2 separate regions of the Homo sapiens genome follow, and region 2 is linked to region 1. Evidence: promoter capture Hi-C in human tissues and cell types (Jung and others, 2019). All regions are on one chromosome and are shown on one strand. Each heading gives the region's core, a stretch centred on a gene start or on the middle of the fragment in contact. The rest is flanking DNA. Distances are from core to core; before and after follow the strand shown. Region 1 holds the start of RPS20 (ribosomal protein S20). Region 2 has its middle 19 kb from the start of RP1.

Region 1 (2,509 bases), core at 7-2,506:
TTTCTTGTAGTGATTCTCAAAGTCTGTAACAAAAGACAAAGGAAACCAAGTGTTTATCGTTTTATACTTATCCCTAGAACATCTGGAAAATCATTACTTCTAATCATTTCATTAGTTTCCCTTTGGTATGATTCCAATTTACACTAATAGATTTTCAGGTACCATGGGTTGAAAATGCCAGGTCTGTTTTCACTGTGCTAGGACACCACCCTTAGAGCTTGCGCCTGTTAAGCACCAAAGCACACCAAGAACACAGCAACAATAATTCAACAATCATATCTAAACATTAGCTACTTACTAGGAACCGCAATCTACCACCGATTTCTATGTGCGTTTGTAGACAGCATCAGTGTTAACAATTTTGGCAGCCGAACTCCTTAAAGAACCTGAATTTATGCAACATCCGGAAGCAACTCCTACTTCCTGCCCCTCCGATTTACTTTACCTTGGTAGGCATTCGAACTGGTCCTTTCACTTTGAGATTCTTTTCTTTTGCGCCTCTTATCAAGTCAGCACACACTACAGGAAATAAAAGACCTCTCAGTATAATCGAAACAATTAAAATCGGCTTAAGGCCTTCACTTCTGCTGGCTCAGAATAGCGTATAAAATTATCACCGTTACTCAACACAATAGGTACCTCCTCATCGCCAGCTGTATGACAGTAAAAGCAATTTTAAGCCACGCTTTACTTTTTTAAGTAACTTGTCACTTTAGTTCTTGCAGTCCACCTTCTACACTAACATTAACGAGTAAAGCTCGTCGCTTTTCGCCCAATTCCCCCTCCCCCCCGCATAACGAATGCACTGACCCTTTTCCAAGGATTTTACGTTGCGGCTTGTTAGGGTGATTCGAATTCGGTGAATTGCCACCTCCGGCTCCACGGGTGTTTTTCCGGTATCCTTAAAAGCCTATTATTAGATACATGAAAAAGAACAATAAGCCAAAAATGGTCTGCCACTTCTGGAGAAAGGCAGCTTCCGGAAGCTTCCCGCGTTTCCCCACCATTTCAGGAGCGCCTTTCCGCCCCTACACGCCCCGGCATCTGCCCTCAGGAGCACGAACTCGAAACCGGGGTCCCCCCGGCGCCCGAGCCCTGCGTTGCGCCGCCCGCCGCCGACTGCCGCCTCACCATGGCTGTTGCGCGCGGGCTTCCTGACCGACTTGTTCCTCGGCGAGAGCGAACAGCGGTGAGTCAGGAGCAGGAGCGTGCGGACCAAAAATCCTCAGCCCTTACGACCGCGTCTTCCTCAAAAAGAAAGGGGTGGGACTTGAGCAACGCTTATATAGCACGCTTGCATCCGGGTCCCACACGCCCCGGAACAGGAAATATCCCGGGCCCTAGAGGCGGTCGCACAAGGGCGAGCTGGAGCACTAGTGGAGTTGGCGGGAAAGGCACGGCTGCGGGCGCCCCCTGTCCGCACGGAGGAGCCGAAGTCCCGCAGGGTGGGGTCCCCGCCTGCGCCGAGAGGGCCACCTGGTCGAGAGAACAGGCGACACGGAAACCTGAGAAACTCCTCTGTCTGGTGCACCTAACCCTCTTCCTCATAAAGTGCACACGAACTCTGGTTTTTCCGTTGCAAATTTTGCTTTCTACATAGACCATACCATTCGTTGCTCTCTGAGGATGAGGTAACTTCTCTGAGCTTAGCTGACATGAGCATTGGCAGAAATGCTTCTCGTAATCTGGATAACTTACGTTAGAATTAGTAAGCAGTTATTTTTCATAGCCTGAAACGTCCTGTTGTGATATTTCAGCTCCTGGCTTCCCAGTCCAGCAGAAGTATCTACATCTATTTCTGGAAAGGACCTGAACTTGGCTTCTCGTCCTTCTGGAAAGTGAGGCGAAAATGCCAGGCTGCGCAGCTATCCTGAGGCCCGGCCTGGAACCTGGCTAGCCACCCAGTCCTGATACCTCATCTCCTTTCTGTTGGATAAAGTCATTGGATAAGATCCCCCAGGGTCTTCTTAATACTGAACATCTGTTCATAATCACATAAGTGACCAAGTATAGTGGAAAACCCGAATGGTCAACTGAGCTGAGCAGTGGGAGAGAGCGCAGGGTGAGCTCACCTACACCTGAGCAAGAAGCCGGGGCTAAATACGTGGAAATCACTGAGATGGATTTTGATACAGGGCAGAAAGAAGAGTAAAATCATCTCATATTACTTTCCACCTGAAGCTCTGAGCCGAAAGAGTTATTTGCTCAAACACTCTGAAATGGGGAGGGACAGAGCTCTGACCCCTCCGTCCAGGCCTGTTTGTTGTTTTTTTTTTTTGTTTGTTTTGTTTTTTTTTTTTTGTGAGACGGAGTTTCATTCTTGTTGCCCAGGCTGGAGTGCCATGGCGCGATCTCGGCTCACCGCAAACTCCGCCTCCTGGGTTCAAGCGATTCTCCTGCCTCAGCCTCCGGAGTAGCTGGGATTACAGGCATGCGCCACCATGCCCGGCTAATTTTTTTTTTTTTTTTTTTTTTTTTAGTAGAGACGGGGTTTCTCCATGTTGATCAT
Region 2 (2,509 bases), core at 4-2,503, 1.4 Mb before region 1:
TGTGCCTCTCTCTCTCTCTCTCTCTCTCTCTCTATATATATATATATATATATATGAAATGTAATATTTTCAACATTTAGTCATATAGCCCTTCACAAAAGTGAAGGTGACAAACAGTTTGAGCCCCTGCTCTGTGCCAAATATTGGGCTAAGTTCTTTATGTGTATTATCTTAGTCCTCACGAGAACCCTCTCGATGGGTAACAGTACCTTTAATGTAGCAGGAAGGGGACTAAAACTCACAGAGGCTAGTAAAGAAGCACTTTTACTTTAATATCTGTATTCGATTCTCATAAAAAGTCCTGAGTTTTGTGGTTTGATACTCTATGTACAGATCTACCCTGAAAACAAAATGACTTTCTATTCCCTGTTTATTGAGGTTAAGAAGGATTCCATTACTGCCCAGGGTTCTTTTAATCCAAAGTACTTACCATTTTTCCTACTATTCTACGCTCTTGTCCATTAAGGTATTAAAGGATAATTGTTTTTAAAAGCAAAATCATGAATTCCATATAGATATAACATGACCATGTGCCAAAGATTGTATTTAACTTACAAATTACATAGGGAATTATTAACATATACAATGGGCTGAAGGAAGAATTTAAAGTATCACTAAAAATAAGCAATAAGAAATGCTGAAATGAATTTGGGTCTGTCCAGGACAAAAATTACATTCCCTGGACACCACCAATTTATATTTCTATGGACAAGAATAGTTTGCATTATCTGTGTTTTTACAATTTGCAGGATTATCAGATAATTTAAAGATAATGAAAAAACAGAGATAACCCCAAGAGGGCTTGATAAGGCACTTAGTAATTTCTTTTTTGTCCATTTCAAGGTATTTCACAGTTTTTTTCCTAAAAGGGTTTATCTTCCAGTAACTTAAGTGCTAAGTTATTAAGGGACTATTCCCAAGTCATGGCAAAGAATGTATGACCAAAAAGCTTTTGAAAATTAAGCAACAAAACAGCAAACCTTCAAACAGAGACAAGTACTATGTTTGATGGTTTAGAGAAGATACGTTCATCTTGTTCTAGACAAAAATTAGTAAACAATTCCCATCATGGACTTTAGATGTAATATACAATGGGCTGGGCGCAGTGGCTCACACCTGTAATCCCAGCACTTTGGGAGGCCAAGGTGGGCGGATCACGAGGTCAAGAGATCGAGACCATCCTGGCGAACACGTTGAAACTCCATCTCTACTAAAAATACAAAAAAATTAGCCAGGTTTGGTGGTGGGCACCTGTAGTCCCAGCTACTCGGGAGGCTGAGGCAGGAGAATGGCATGAACCCAGGAGGCGGAGCTTGCAGTGAGCCGAGATGGTGCCACTGCACTCCAGCCTGGGCAACAGAGCGAGACTCCATCTCAAAAAAAAAAAAAAAGATGTAATATACAATGATTATTTTTTTATCAATGGGAATTCTTTCTAAAGGATATACACATGAGCCTTTTCTCTATGCATAGATATTTCATATATTAATGTTTACTTTTTGATTCATACACAGATTATCATAACAATCAGTAACAGCAAGAACAAAAAACAAAGGTCAATGGAGTAGAAATCATTTAGCTGCTTTTCATCTTGAGAATAGTTCTTTTCTTCTGTAACACTAATGTTGATAAATGGCTGCAGTCTACAGACTACTACTTACGTAAGACTGCTTAAAGCTCAGGTGAATCAATACAACCAAGTAAATTAAGATAGGATGGTAGGTTCATGGGAAAACATGACTTGTACATCACAGGAATTCATTATATTGAGAGTGAAAGTGGTTAGTGAGAAATGGGTGATACAAAGCTAAACACTATATTTATGTTCATATATATGAATATTCATATATATATTTATAAGTTTATTTAATGTAGTTGCTGCCTCAGCATCCATTTTTAGGATTGACATAATATTTGAAATTTAGTCCTACTTTGTCACCTTTGGCTTAGTTAAAAGCTTACTTTCCCGTGTAGTTGTTTGCCGTATGGCTTATTTGTTCCTCACTTCTTTGACCCAAAACCCAACACACCCCACAGCTATTGAACGTGATAAAATGTAACGGTCAACACCAGAGTCACATAAATAGGTTCACCCCTTCAGGAGGGAAGAGGGGAACTTATTTCTTTAAATTAGCCCATCTACAACCCCCACAAGAAAGCCTAAGGGATAATGTCCACAGAGCTTAATAAAGGCATACACAGTCCCAGAGATTTCCCCGTCCCTCTCTCCCAAAAGTTCTGTCTCACAACCTCCCTCCTTCCCTTTCTCCCTCTTCCTCTCCTCCCCACTGACCCCTTGCTGATTGAGCTCCCTGCTGCCTCTTTCTGTTGGCACCCCTAACCTTTCTGGGAACTGTGAATAATAAACACTTATGTTTTGCGCATTTCCATTTCACTTCATTGTGTCTCATTTGGCATAGATGCTCTTAACGTAGCCTTCTTTTTGGTCAGAGCTATCTTAGAGAGTGGCTGTCTTGACAGGAATAATCTGGATACAGGTCAGGCAAGA

The links. Contacts are between HindIII fragments. The study calls those that stand out against the background at their distance.
Region 2: a fragment that was not itself captured here is called in contact with the fragment with the promoter of RPS20 in region 1 in 2 of the 25 tissues and cell types used here (neural progenitor cells and spleen).

The regions. Positions count from the first base shown.
Region 1 is chr8:56,073,250-56,075,758 of GRCh38, forward strand. It overlaps RPS20 (ribosomal protein S20), which reads right to left and starts at 1,257. Exons shown (of 4, transcript NM_001023.4): 1 at 1,132-1,257; 2 at 811-910; 3 at 446-519; 4 at 1-23. The coding sequence starts at 1,134. It overlaps SNORD54 (small nucleolar RNA, C/D box 54), which reads right to left and starts at 652; the gene lies at 590-652. CERNA3 (competing endogenous lncRNA 3 for miR-645) reads left to right here and starts at 1,343. Exons shown (of 2, transcript NR_149110.1): 1 at 1,343-1,631; 2 at 1,758-2,025. The HindIII fragment of the contact is 21,018 bases long and covers 1-2,509 here.
Region 2 is chr8:54,633,706-54,636,214 of GRCh38, forward strand. It overlaps a transcript of RP1 not described here. Among named protein-coding and RNA genes, the nearest start is that of RP1, 19 kb to the left of the region's middle. The HindIII fragment of the contact is 4,275 bases long and covers 1-2,509 here.